2 separate regions of the Homo sapiens genome follow, and region 2 is linked to region 1. The links are contacts of gene promoters, found by promoter capture Hi-C in human tissues and cell types (Jung and others, 2019). All regions are on one chromosome and are shown on one strand. Each heading gives the region's core, a stretch centred on a gene start or on the middle of the fragment in contact. The rest is flanking DNA. Distances are from core to core; before and after follow the strand shown.

Evidence for each region. Contacts are between HindIII fragments. The study calls those that stand out against the background at their distance.
Region 2: a fragment that was not itself captured here is called in contact with the fragment with the promoter of TXNDC2 in region 1 in 5 of the 25 tissues and cell types used here (adrenal gland, dorsolateral prefrontal cortex, heart left ventricle and 2 more).

What each region holds. Positions count from the first base shown.
Region 1 is chr18:9,881,751-9,889,016 of GRCh38, reverse strand. TXNDC2 (thioredoxin domain containing 2) reads right to left here and starts at 3,044. Exons shown (of 2, transcript NM_032243.6): 1 at 2,937-3,044; 2 at 1-2,428. The coding sequence starts at 2,336. The coding sequence ends at 876. The HindIII fragment of the contact is 24,551 bases long and covers 1-7,266 here.
Region 2 is chr18:9,840,855-9,848,446 of GRCh38, reverse strand. It overlaps RAB31 (RAB31, member RAS oncogene family), which reads right to left. Exons shown (of 7, transcript NM_006868.4): 6 at 2,756-2,865. It also overlaps the pseudogene RNA5SP449. Among named protein-coding and RNA genes, the nearest start is that of TXNDC2, 41 kb to the left of the region's middle. The HindIII fragment of the contact is 5,768 bases long and covers 638-6,405 here.

The DNA of each region.
Region 1 (7,266 bases), core at 1,795-4,294:
CTGTGATTAGGTTAATTCATTAAAGTCTAGGCCTATATGTCTAAGCTGGTAGAGTCATGTTAAAGGCTGGCTTGTTCAATATTGAAAATAAGAACAAATTTAAGTAAAAAAGTCAGAGGAAGGTCTAGGTATTATGAACTCAATTACCAGGGAGACGAACCAGGAACTCTGCCATCAGGGCACTGATGTCATAAAGGCAGCAAAGATCCAGAGGACTTCAACCTCCGAGAAACCTGAAGTTCCGACCTCTTGTCTGAGATTTTGTGAGCGTAGATTATAGTAGGTAGAGCCCTGGACTTGAAATCTGGAAGCGGCCTTGATCTCATTTCCGTCACCAACAAATCAGATCTTGGAAAACCCACTGAATTTCCCAAGGCCTCCGTAGCACTTCCGGCACAAGAAGGAGGTTAGCTAAGATGTGAATCTTTCAAATTCCTTATTTCCAAACATATCTTATCAGAATCCCCAAAGATGTGTGACATGAGAAAAGAAGTTTCCATTCACCTTTCAGTCATCTACCTCTATAGAAAAATTATCTAAATTTTCAGTCTTGCTGCAAACACTAAATGCGTGAAATTTTCAAAGACAAGTGAAAAATAAATACATATCAAGATTGAAAAATAGGAAACCATGGGACTTAGCAGTCTTCACCATGGGAATTTCTAATTTTATACTCTCCCACTAACAGAAACACAGTCGCAATGTACTTTAATGCTTGGACTGTTTTTTGAAAAGGGTAGAGTTAATATTATCATGTACAAGCAGTGCCATTTGGACATACACTTTTGTTATACCTGATCACTTTGTGTAAATAATAAAAGAGAACTCAAAAGCTATAAACACCTGACTGTCTGCAATGTTTTCAGAATACATGTTTACTTTAATTCTGCAATGACTGCTTCAAGTTTTTCCTTAAGGGCGCCGCAAAGTTCATCCACCTTTTCTTCTTTTTTATAAAACTGAAAGGTTGGGACACACATGATGGCGCACTCTCTCACCACCTCCTCACAGTTGTCAGCGTCCACCTCCAGGAACACCACATCCTCATGCTTCACAGACAGGGCATGGAAGAATGGTCTGATGGTCCTGCAGGGCCCACACCACGTGGCCGAGAAGTCCACAGCCACCAGCCTCTCCCCGGCCTCCTTCAGTGATGCCTCAAAGTCCTCCTTGCTCAGGATCACTTTCACCTTGTCCCCCTCCGGGAACTCCATTGTTTCTTCTTCAGGCTTTAGGATGTCACCCTCCTTGGATGGGGTGGCTTCTTCTAGGGACTTGGGGCTGTCATCCTCCTTGGGCTGGATGGTTTCTTCTGGGGACTTGGGGATGTCAATCTCCTTGGGTGGGATGGCTTCCTCTAGGGACTTGGGAATGTCACCCTCCTTGGGCTGGATGGCTTGTTTTGGAGACTTGGGAATGTCACCCTCCTTGGGCTGGATGGCTTCTTCTGGGGACTTGGGGATGTCACCCTTCTTGGGCTGGATGGTTTCTTCTGGGGACTTGGGGATGTCACCCTCCTTAGGCTGGATGGCTTCCTCTAGGGACTTGGGGATGTCACCCTCCTTGGGCTGGATGGCTTCTTCTGGGGACTTGGGGATGTCACCCTCCTTGGGCTGGATGGCTTCCTCTAGGGACTTGGGGAGGTCACCCTCCTTGGGCTGGATGGCTTCTTCTGGGGACTTGGAGATGTCACCCTCCTTGGGCTGGCTGGGCTTCACTGAGGCCTTGGGAATATTGCCCAGCTTGGGCTGGATGGGCTTTGCTGAGGACTTGGGGATGTCACCCTCCTTGGGCTGGATGGTTTCTTCTGGGGACTTGGGGATATCACTCTCCTTGGGCTGGCTGGGCTTCACTGAGGTCTTGGCAATATTGCCCAGCTTGGGCTGGATGGGTTTTGCTGAGGACTTGGGGATGTCACCCTCTTTGGGCTGGATGGCTTCTTCTGAGGACTTGGGGAGGTCCTCCTTCTTGGATTGGATGGTTTCTTCTGGGGCCTTGGGGATGTCACCCTCCTTGGGCTGGCTGGGCTTCACTGAGGCCTTGGGAATATTGCCCAGCTTGGGCTGGATGGGTTTTGCTGAGGACTTGGGGATGTTACTCTCTTTGGGCTGGATGGCTTTTTCTGAGGACTTGGGGAGGTCCTCCTTCTTGGATTGGATGGTTTCTTCTGGGGCCTTGGGGATGTCACCCTCCTTGGGCTGGATGGTTTCTTCTGAGGACTTGGGGCTGTCATCCTGCTTGGGATGGCTGGTGTTTGCTGAGGACTTGGGTAGGTCATCGCCCTCCTGTGAGGCATCAGACTCCTCTGTGCGCATGTGGAACGTGTGGCTGACCATGGGGAGAAAGGCCTTCTCTTTGGCCTGGGCTATTTCCAAGAACTCTAGGGCCAGGAGAGGCACGTTGCTGGACAGGACTAGTAATGAGCTTTCTGTACCAAAAAACATAAAATAAAATAAAATAAAATAAATCAAATAGAAATGCAAAAGAAGAACCAAAGAAATTCTCTTCATATTCCAAGGAAGACTGATGTCACTCTTCGAGATCACGAATGAAGTCTGATGAATGATGTATTAATCTGAAAAACTCATTCAGCAGAAGGACAAACAGCGTGTGGTTACACGTATCTTCTGTATACATGTTCTTAAGCTACAACTTTCCCTTCTTGGTTCAACACCCTGCCCGCTCCCTAACTGCATAGGTCTTTAAGGCAACCCTCTTTCCTCCCCTACTTACCATTAGCATCACCTTCACTTGTTTCTTCCTGAGTGCCCAGCCTCATTTCTGGTTTTCCAGAGGCTCCAGCTTTAACACTTTCCATTCCTAGTTCCTTGTCTACATCCATTCCTGATCCTTCATAGATGCCTCATAGTAAAGGCCGTACCCTCCAACTTTTTCCAAGCTATCCATCCTAACATCAAAATATGAGTAAAACTTACATTTGGGTGGCACGTTACAGTTGGTTTTCCCTCTCTGTATTCACAACAGTGATATTTGAGAGCTTCAAGGTGGCTCCCCTGTGCTGAGGCTGGGACTACGCATTCACTGGCATCATTTCCTAGAACACAACAAACCACTGAGGTCAGAACCATTATGATGAGTAGTTTACACATGAGAAGCTATGTAGCTCACTTAAGGTCACAAAGCTAGGGTGGGGGCAGGCTCCAAAGCTCATGCTCTGCACTGTGAGGCTGTGCTGGACTGCTCGCCACAAGTCCCGTCCAGCCTGGGTTCTGTGAATCAACCATCTTATCATCTTTCTCCAGGATCCCCCAGCTCCAACATTCTCTTTACGACTCACCCATTGTGACCAGCTCCTAAGTATCTCCTCGAAACCATGTTAGCCTCCTCTGCAAAGTGTCCCACAATGTCAAATGTTCAGCTCCTGCTAGACAGCCTCTTTCCCCACCTCCCCCACCTCCCAGGCGCACCAGCCCAGCCTGTGCCCTCCCCCATGCAGACACATCCAAGTACACGGCTCTTCCAGCCTTTACATACAGGAGAACAACCTCTTTGTGAATAATCCTGGTTCCATAAGCCACATCTACCCCATCCTGTGGAATGGGAAGCCAAATACCTGTCCCCCAGGGAGACTTATTTTATTAGTTCAGGACCACTGGCTCATTTTCCACCCTCACTCTGCACAACACATCCAGTCCAAGGCAGGAAGAATCAGTGTGGAATTTTGCCTTCTCTACATGTACTTTGAACAAATCCTCATATGTTTCAGTTTCACCCCAACAATATAAGTGTTGAAAGTGGTCAGGCATGGTGGCTCACACCGTGATCTCAGTACTTTGGGAGGCCAAGGTGGGAGGATTTCTTGAGCCCAGGAGTTTGAGATCAGCCTAGGCAACATAGCAAGACCCCATCTCTACAAAAAATACAAAACCTAGCCAGGCACAGTGGCACACGCCTGTCCCAGCTACTTGGGAAGCTGAGGTGGGAGGCTTGCTTGAGCCAGTGAGTTCAAGACTGCAGTGAGCCGTGATCACTACATCGTACTCTAGCCTGGGCAACAGAGCAAGGCCCCGTCTCTAAAAACTAAAAATAAAAGTGTTGAAATCTAAATGATAAGACCTCCACATTGTCAATAGAAACCTCGAAACATCTAATGGCAATGGTTCAATTATCTGGATTTTTATACCAAAACACATTTTACTAAGGGGTAGAGAGACTATTGGCCTTAGCAAATCCATAGTTCCTTTTTTTTTTTTCTTTGAGACAGTCTTGCCCTGTCACCGAGGCTGGAGTGCAGTGGCACAATCTCGACTCACTGCAACCTCTATCTCCCAGGTTCAAGCAATTCTCTTGCCTCACCCTCTCGAGTAGCTGGGATTACAGGCATTCACCACCACACCCGGCTAATTTTTGTATTTTTTTTAGTCGAGACAGGGTTTCACCATGTTAGCAAGGCTGGTCTCTAACTCCTGACCTCAAACGATCCACCTGCCTCAGCCTCCCAAATTGCTGGGATTACAGGCGTGAGCCACCATGCCTGGCCCAGCAAATCCGTAGTTCTTGATGATATGAATCCTGTTCCAGGAAGAGCTCATGCTTCCACTCCGTTTCCTCGGTTACTGCCAAAGAAAGCTCTTCCCTCTCTCACTGGGAGACTTTGGGCCTTTCTTATGTGATATTTTAAAGGACGGGAGGTTGTCTTCACTCTCCAATGCCAACGGCTTCCACAGCTGACAGGACTGTTTTTCATGGTGCCCTATTTTAAAGCAGAGGATGAAAATAAACGTCAGGCACTTATCTGGGCAATGTCTTCTTTCTTAGTGTTAGGAGAAAGGAGGTGAAGCGGGGAGGATAGGCATCATTTGCAGAAACCATCATGAGCAGATTTTATTAGCACAAAGTGGGCAGCATCTTTGGCCCTTGCTCATTGGTAAGTTAATTTACTTCCTGGGACCCTATCTTGTACAGGGTCCCTGCTGTTTGGAAGGGAGTGGATGAGGACACAGAGGAACTCCATCGCTGAGAGGCAGAAGTGAAAACATCACTCCTGCCATCCCAGTAGATGTGGAGGCAAGAGGACAGATGCCTGTGTCCCGGCCTCCTTTCTCCAGGTTGATTGCCAGCACAGATACTAATCAGATGTGCTACTCTACTAAAAATGCGATTTTAGATCTCTACTAAAAATACGAAAGTTAGCCGGATGTGGTGACAAATGTCTGTAATCCCAGCTACTCAGGAGGCTGAGGCAGGAGAATCGCTTGAACCTGGGAAGCAGAGGTTGCAGTGAGCGGAGATGGTGCCACTGCACTCTAGCCTGAGCAACAGAGCAAGACTCTCTCAAAAAAAGAAAAAAAAAAAAGATAAAAAAAGACTTGCAGCTGAAAGCAGAGGGGCATCTGCCTCCTGCTCCACTTGGAAGGCCAGGATGAGCCCACGTGGACTTCACATCCAACACAGCACTGTCCTCGTGCAGCGTGGCCCCTAGTAGAGGGTAAGAATGGATGTGTGGACCTGGGGCAGGCCCCACAGCCTGCAGGGAGGAGGTTAAAGATCTAGCAACGATGTACACCTCAGAGAGTGGCTGGGAGTGCTCTGAGACTGGTGAAAGATAGAGGCCTAGAGGAAGAAGACTCAGAGGAGGAGGATCTGTGACCAGAGGCAAGGACTGGAATCACAGACTCCAGCAGTGAGTAACATCACGATGCCCCTGTCCTAAATGGAATCAGTGGGTCCTTCAAGAGATCTCAGGCTGGGGACCAGGCCAGACCAGCCAATTCACATGGGAAACCAGCACGGGACCAGAGCACCCGGCACGTTTATCCGTGTAGCCCTGGGCATCCAGACACTATGGACAAAGTGAGAACTCTGAAAGATTGCACCGCTACACCATGGAAAAGGGTTCTTTGAGCCAAAATTCCACAAACAGGCAAACTTAATTCGGTTTCCCTGCTCCTCACCATCCCACCCCAAAACCCATTGAGATAAGGCTCATGGGAAGGATGAGCCATTCTAGAGAAATGTATAAGTGATATTGTACCTGAATGTCTTAGTAAAAGAGAGGAAATCTGTGATCCTGTTACATTTATACTTGGAGATCTTCGTTGTGTTTTAGGTTTGGCACTTGTTCCTGATATTTTTACTCTTCCTTCTGCAATTCAGATGAATTCCAAGCAACTTGAAATATTAATTCTTCCACTGACTTGTCATAAAATGTATGTTTTCCTTCAGCAGAAGCTCATTCCCAAATAGCTCATGAGCCCTTATGTCACTCAGGTTGTGTCTCAGGAAACAGAAACAACCAGCTATTTTAGGCCTAGGATTATTTGGGCAATTATAAAACTGCTGGCGAGGCTGCCTGTTTAGGCTAGGTATCCCGGAATGATTCCCAGAACACTGAGCAATGATACAGAACAGGCTTGCCAGGATCATTACAACCTCCAGGATATCAGGAAGATAGGGAATTAGAAGACCACCACCCAAACTGTTAGCTTTAATAACCTTCTGCTACAGCCACCATCCAGGGGTGAGTCCGCCCCAGCCCCAACTCCCTCTGAGCCCAGAGATGGAGATGAGTTCTGGTCATCTGTTCCAACCCCCACTGAACCCCCGCAGACTGAGGCAGAGCTGATACTGTGGCCTCCTTCTCAAGAAGGTTCAGCTACTGGTGGATGCTAATTCATACCCAGCGACTCAGCTGCAAGGGAGTCAAGGGAACATGACTTTTTGTTCCCAGAAGGAACAAAGAAGGACACCAGAAGGAAGTTGGAATAAACACTGCATGTAAAGCCATTTCTACCACACCCTTACAAAGACAATATTATGCACAAAAATTTTTGTTTTTTGAGATGGAATTTCACTCTTGTCGCCCAGGCTGGAGTGCAATAGTGCAGTCTCGGCTCACTGCAACCTCTGCCTCCCGGGTTCAAGCAATTCTCCTGCCTCAGCCTCCCCAGTAGCCAGGATAACAGGCGCCCACCACCACGCCAGGCCAATTTTTGTATTTTTAGTAGAGACGGGGTTTCACCACATTGGCCAGGCTGGTCTCGAACTGCAGACTTCAGGTGATCTGCCCACCTCAGCCTCCCAAAGTGCTGGGATTACAGGCCTGAGTCACTGTACCCGGCCTATGTATGAATTTTTTATATCTTTTGCTGGCATACATTTTTGGTTTATAATTACAAAAATAATATGTGTTCATAATATAAAAATTAGAAAACAGATAAGTAAAAAGAGAATAAAAATTACTCGTAGTTCTTCATACCTCAGGAATCATTGCTATAATAGTGTGATGTACATTCTTTGTCTTTT
Region 2 (7,592 bases), core at 2,272-4,771, 41 kb after region 1:
TAGACAGGCGGACAGATGGACAGATGGACAGACAGACGGATGGCTAGATAGACAGATGACTAGACAGACAGATGTACAGATGAATAGATAGATAGACGGACAGATGGATAGACAGATGGACAGCTAGAAAGATGGATATACACACAGATGGACAGAAGGACAGACAGAGACAGACAGGCAGATGGACAGATAGACAGCCAAGTGGACAGATGGACAGACAGATGGAGGGAAAGATGGATAGACAGACAGATGGATAGCCAGACAGATGGACAGACTGAGGTTTTGCCATGGCTGTGTATTTACAAGCTTTCTTTGTCAAGGCAGTTACAACCAAAGTATAATAAAACAGAAACAAACAATTGTTTATGTGACATGAAAGATGAGGTGATATGGGTATTTGATGGCTTATATAGGAATTAATTACTTTGAAACCATAATTACCCATGTTTGAGCAAAGCACTTGTTTTTTCATAAAGTAGACCACCAAGATCTGAGGAATTAACCTGTTCAAAGTCCCTGTCACACACAGGAAGGGATTTATACTGGATAAATGTCTTTTAAGTTATTACTACAAGCCATGTGTGGTGGCTCACACCTGTAATCCTGGCACTTTGGGAGGCCGATGGGGGAAGATTGCTTGAGCTCAGGAGATTGAGACCAGCCTAGGCAACATGGCGAGACCTTGATTCTACTAAAAATCCAAAAATTTAGCTGAGTGTGGTGGTGCACACCTATAGTCCCAGCTACCCAGGTGGCTGAGGTCGGAGGATTGCTTGAGCCCAGGAGGTGGAGGCTGCAGCGAGCTATGATTGCACTACTGCACTCCAGCCTGAGCAACAAAGACTCTGTCTCAGAAAAAAAAAGAAAAAAGATATTAGTACAGTACTTCCTACTCAGGCTTCTTCTCTTTCAGGTCCTTATTTGATATTTTTAAATTTTAACAATGACTTTCATAAACTTCAGAAAGCTTCCCAGCTGGTGCAGAGATCTCAAGCTCAAGTTCAGGTCATACAAGGCACCAGGCTCCCCTGGCTGACCACTGATATCTGTGCTGGGGGTCTTCCAAGGCCAGGGAGCTAAGGAGGAGGAGGGGGCTCTGCGGAAGACGCGGGGCTGTAAGGATGGAAGGTGCTAAGGCAATCGTCCTCAGGAGCTATCTAGCTTCATTCATTAAAACCACCTGTAAAAACAAAATGTTTCATAGCTGAGCATAGCAGAAGAGCCTAACGCCACCAGAAGAGAATGAGTTTAATCTGAGGAAATGTGAGGCTAATGTAATGAGTTCGAGCCCAAACTTAGATGTCACCCAGAGTGACACAACACCAGAGAGCATCTGCACCCACTGACCATGATGGAGAAGGGAGAGGAATGTGGGGACATGGGGTTTCCCACATGAAATTCCAGCCCCAGCCTGCTAGAGTTCAGCCATTCAGGGCAAGGAGCCTGAAACCATTCTGTTGAGAGTAAGAAATCAAAGGAGGAAAGAAAGGGAAGGTGGAAAGAAGGGAAGAGAGTGAAGACCCCAGTGAAGGAAAGGGCCAGCAGCTGGGGAGGGGAGGCTCCAAGCCATTCTTTTGCACATTTCTTTTGCATATCTCTGCATAGTGTAGGTAAGACAGGTCAGAATTCCCCATCTCCAATGAATTCTCCATCAAGCCAACATAAACAAAAGATTCCCTCCTGTGGGTTCTTGGAGTCTAAAGTAATGCACTCAAACCAGTTAAACAGAAATCAAAACTGTTCTGGGAAGCCACGGCTTCTCTGACTTTGAGAGCTCTGCCAAAAACGATCTCAGGCAGGAAAGAGATCAAACCATCAGTTTCCCTTCTGGAGTTGTCTGGAGCTAAGATATTTGAGGACAATTACTGTTTTGGGGTTCAACTCCTCCTAAGGTGGCTATTCCAGGAACTTCAGGGCCAGTATTTCATCAAACACCTGTACTTCTCCCAACGTCCCTGATAATGCTCCGGTCGAACTTTCCTGAGGGTGTCTCAGAGCAGTTTTCCCAGATGGCTGTCAGCAGGGACTTCTCTGGCAGAATCCGGAACAGAATGACACAACCAGAGAACTTATGAAGGTTAAATCTGTTGAGCTGGAAGCCTCACAGCTGCAGATAGATGTGTTGGCAGAGCCATTAGCTGGGAACCAGCTCTGGTTGATAAGGTTATTCCCGGGGAGCCGGCATACAGTGAGCATAACGGGACCCAGCACTGGGACCAGGAAGGAGGCTGTCACCCTCCCTAATTAGCTCACCAGACACATGGGGTACCTGTACACGCCAACCCTGTATCCAATTCCCAATTTCAGGTCAAACAGGATGGAGACATTACTTTTTGTAGGAGATGATCAGGCAAAAAAAGTTACTGGAAGGTTCCCTCAGTTTACCTAGAGTCATCCCATCTAATGGGTGACCTTGAGTTCTATACCTTGTCTATTTTCTCTCTCCTCCTAACATAAAATGCTACAGAATGCATAATTTTCAATTAAAATAAATTTTATTTTTGCAACAGGATTACTTCATTTTAATTTACAGAACTCAGAGTGAACAGGTTCCAGTACAGAATCATGGAAATCTAGAATCGAGAGGATAATAGAAGTGGGTATTAACAACTGCATAGCTGTAGATTTTGTATCCATGGCATCCGATAAATTCACACAGAGGAAAAGTTCACTTCAGAGTTCTAAAATGTTATCCTTTGACTCCCAGAAGCATAAAAATGCAAGTTGGGCTGAAAACCCAATTTCAGGTACTTACTGATTCCTTGAAAGAGCTCTTCGATATTAATAGCATTTTTTGCACTTGTCTCAACCACGATGGCACCTATGGATTCAGCGTATTCCTTAGCATCCTTCAGGGGAACCTCCCTGGAAAAGAGGTCAAATGTAGACAGGAAATGAATGTTTGTTTGTAAAATACAAATCACCCAAAAGACCAGACAGCTTGTGCGGCAACAGCTCCTTTATCTTCTTGTAGAATAATAATTCAATCACTCAGCAAGAATGGACACCTAGTATGAGTGAGACTTTTTAAAGTTTAAAACCCAGTCTCTGGCATTCATGAAGAGAAGATATGCATATATAAAATAGTGTTCCTGCTCCCACAGAAGAATTCCAGAACAGCAGGGAAAACCATGACAAATATGGCAGTACACATTTCAGCTTTCAGAGCTACAGCTGATTTCAACTTTTTTCCCCATTACATGACTCAATATTAAAAAACACCAAACCTCTGTTAGTATGTTTGTGCACACATGCTTTTGTGAAACTTTTTACATATTATCTTTCACAAATCAGAGAAAATATGCAATGTGCTGTGACAGTTTGGAAACGAGCATGGTTATACCGACCATGGCTACAATACAGGATGGCATATCTGGACTTTCATCTGTAAAAGGATGTTCTCGCAAAGGTTTTAGGGCATGAACTCTATTTAAATGAACAATTAAAAAAATCTCCTCGGGAGGCTGAGGCAGGAGAATGGCGTGAACCCAGGAAGCAGAGCTTGCAGTGAGCCGAGATTACACCACTGCACTCCAGCCTGGGTGACAGAGCAAGACTCCGTCTCAAACAAAACAAAACAAAACAAAACAAAACAAAACAAAACAAAACAAAACTCACCTGAACGCACCTGATTTCATCTGATCTTGGAAGCTAGGCAGGGTCAGGCCTGGCTAGTACTTGGATGGGGTCTACGGCCATACCACCCTAAAAAAACCTACTGACCTCTTTTCAATGTGAAAATGCTGTGGTGGATCCAAAGATAAAAAAGATGCAGTTCCTATTCTCCAGCAGCTGCTGCATGCCAGTCCCTCTCCCAGGGGCCAGAGAAAACACAGGTTCTGCCTTCTGGCACCTGTGCTTTAGAACACAGACAAACAGGGCTCATCCAGGGGCACTCTAATCCACAACACTGCGACATAAAGTGCTTCAGGAGCAGAGGGGCAGGAAGTGATGTGTTCTGTTCAATAGACCCCAGGAAGATGCCCAGAGGTGGTCACCTTAAGTGTGGCCATGAAGGCTAGGCAAATGCAGGTCAGACTCTGGGATGGGACAGCCTGAGCAGAGGCCCAGAGACAGGAGAGTGCACACATTCCCGGAGATTATTAAAAGTTGATTCTGCACCCAGCACTGCTGGGGATGTTATGGCGGATTTGCAAATGAATGACACGGGCCCGAATGGAGAGAATGTCAGAGAGGTTGGAGCTGAGAGAGGGAGGCACACCATGTCTGTCTATACCCAGAGGCCACTGAAGGACAGGAAGTGACAGGGTCAGCTCCACAGTCTAGGAAAAAATGGTGCATAGAATGGATGGAGGTGAGGAGAAGAATCTGGAAGCTCCTCTAATGCTGCAGGCAAGAGTATCACAATCCTCGACCAGAAGGATTGCTATTGGAAAAGAGAAGGAAGACACAAAATCAAAACAGGGACAGAGAGTGATGGGAGAGCGCCCACCTCCCCGCCCCTTCCTCCACCTGCCCCAGAGCCTGTAAATGGCTTCAAGAGGTTTAAAGTTACCAAGGAAATTCTACTTTGGCATTCAAATTCCTATGGGACTCAAACCATATGCGGGGAAGACCCTTCAGTCCTAGCTGGAAAAGCGCCTGACTAGGGTCTACCATGTTAAAGGCGATGGCCCCAGCCTCTCAGCCAAAAGAAATATGTCCCTGGAGCCAAGTCAGTGGGCACCTGTGCTTCCAAACTGCAGGGAAAAGTACACCCCGACATTCACTCTCTTGTTTGTAACAGACAAGACCCAGGCCTGTCACAGGGATTATGCTGGAGTTTTTCTGGCAACAGAATTTTATATTTGAAAGATTACAGAAAAGTGCTTTTCTCTGTGCAGTTTGGCATGATACCTTGTTTTTTACTTCCTCCTGAAGTTTTTTTTTTTTTTTTTTTTTTGACAGTGTCTTGCTCTGTCGCCCAGGCTGGAGTGCAGTGGCATGATCTCGGCTCACTGCAACCTCCGCCTCCCGGGTTCAAGCAATTCTTGTGCCTCAGCCTCCTGAGTAGGTGGGATTACAGGTGCGCACCACCACACCTGGCTAATTTTTGTATTTTTTGGTAAAGACGGGGTTTCGCCACGTTGCCCAGTCTGGTCTTGAACTCTTGGCCTCAAGTAATCCGCCTGCCTCAGCCTCCCAAAGTGCTGGGATTACAGGCTTGCACCACTGCGCCCAGCCTCTTCCTGAAGTCTTTATCAAAGCACAGATAAAGGGTGGGGCTCATCTCTGCCCACAATGGGGTGCAGGAGGAGATGTCACCTGCTACCCTACTGGGGGTGGGGTGAGGAGCACCTGGCAAGCAAGGATGCCTCTGGGCCCGCAGGTGAGAGGAAATCACATTCACAGGTGAAGCACTTCCTCAGCCCCTCTAATCAGTCCAACTGCAGGACAAGAAGGAGCGGCACAGGTTCACTAGGCTTACAAAAGAACAGTTATCATGTACCACAGCCCAACATCTCCATCCTTAGGATGACCATGGCCAAGAGGCTAATTCCTTCACAGTCTACAACATAAATATGGAGATGGGAAGATAAGAAAAGCACACCCTCAGACTCCTTCCATGGCTAGAGGTGAGTCTCATTAAATCATCGGCCTGCCGAAGTGACATGCCTAATGAGAGGTGAGACAGGGCTTAACCCAAACCCGTGACTCTGTCCACCTCACTCCTACAGGGCTGCAATGGCACAAGCACCCACCAGCACCACATGCCAGAGGCTGTTATTTCCATCTTGACAGACACATGTGGGGCTCAAAGTGTTTCAAACTGTCACATGCACTGCAGTTGGGGTGGGGCGGGGCAGGAGCCTACTCCATCCTCCTAAAGAACAGGTGCTTACAGGAAGAATCTGGAGGGCCAGTGAAAGTCCCTCCAATGTGAACTAAGATTAGAACGACCAATCACTCTTGAGTCTGCCAAAATATGCTCCCATTACTGTGGCATAATAAAAAAATACAGATTCGGTCTTTGCCCTGGTTCCCGGCACAGTTCTCCCCAAACCCTCAGAGTTTCCTGGGTGATAGGAGTGTCTTCTGGTATTCTTGAAGAGCCCCTTCAGCCATGACTGAGTTTGATAGCGTGTGGCCCTAGACCATCCTGTGGCCTCTTCAGGATGAGCCTGGTTGCTGGAGGAATCAACCACATGGTTAGAGGGTTGAATCTTTCAGCCCCAACGCCAGCCTCTGGGGCTGGAGATTTAATCAATCTTCATTAGTCATCTAAGTAATGAAGCCTCAATACGAACTATTGAACACAAGGCTTGAGAGGGTCCGGGCTGCTGAGCACACTGGTGTGCTGGGAGTGCTACCCCTGAGAGGCTGGAAGCTCCTTGTCCCACTCCCACCCCTCGCCCTCACTATCTCTTCCATTTAGCTACTCCTGAGTTGTGTCCATAACAACAGAACTGTATGTCAAATTAATATTATAGGAGGCCTTTGTTTCGGGCCTAAGCTCCTGCATTAGGCCCCATGAGACCAGACTGAAAATAAAAGTAGTCACCCATGCTTAAGTTCCCCTTCACCAAACCCAAACTAAGTAGTTATCTGACCTTCTGAGAAGTCACAAGAGGTAACAGCCAATTTCCCAAATAGGCCAGCTGAAATCTTCAGTAGCCATGGAATGCAGTTCCCTTGGCTTTAATCCTTACATGACATGTTAACTCATCTGATATTCCATCGTTCTGTTTCCCCGTCCCTCCCTCTGCCTGTCCCCCAAGAAAAGTATCTTTGAAACGACTAGCAGGCTACTGTTCCTTGTTCCTGCTTTCTTCAGCCCTTCTCTGTCTATAAAGCCAATCCCCTCTGCTCAGCCCATGGGAACACTTATTCTATTTTATGGAATGATTTGTTGCCAGTTCTAGAATCATGAATAAAGCCAATTGAGATTTTTTTTTTTTTTTTTTTTTGAGACAGAGTCTCACTCTATCGCCCAGGCTGGAGTGCAGTGGCGCCATCTCGGCTCACTGCAAGCTCTGCCTCCCGGGTTCACGCCATTCTCCTGCCTCAGCCTCCGGAATAGCTGGGACTACAGGCGCCTGCCACCACGCTCGGCTAACTTTTTGTATTTTCAGTAGAGACGGGGTTTCACCATGTTAGCCAGGATGGTCTTGATCTCCTGACCTCGTGATCCACCCGCCTCAGTCTCCCAAAGTGCTGGGATTACAGGTGTGAGCCACTGCGCCTGGCCCAATTGAGATCTTTAAACTAAATTTGGGCCATGCACAGTGGCTCACGCCTGTAATCCCAGCACTTTGGGAGGTCAAGGCAGGAGCATCGCTCCAGATCAGGAGTTCATGACCAGCATCAGCAGCATAGCAAGGCCCTATCTCTACAAAAAATAGGAAAAATTAGCCAGGTGTGATGGTGTGTGCTTGTGGACTCAGCTACTCAGGAGCTACTGAGATGGGAAGATCGCTTGAGCCTGGTGAGTTTGGGGCTGCAGTGAGCTATGATTGTACCACTGCACTCTCGCTTGGGTAACAGAGTGAGATACTGTCTCTAAAGAATATTTAAAAATAAATTTGTTGTAATTCCTTCCTTTGACAGTAATCATAATTCCTTCCTTTGACAGTACAGTGCTTTCCTGAGTT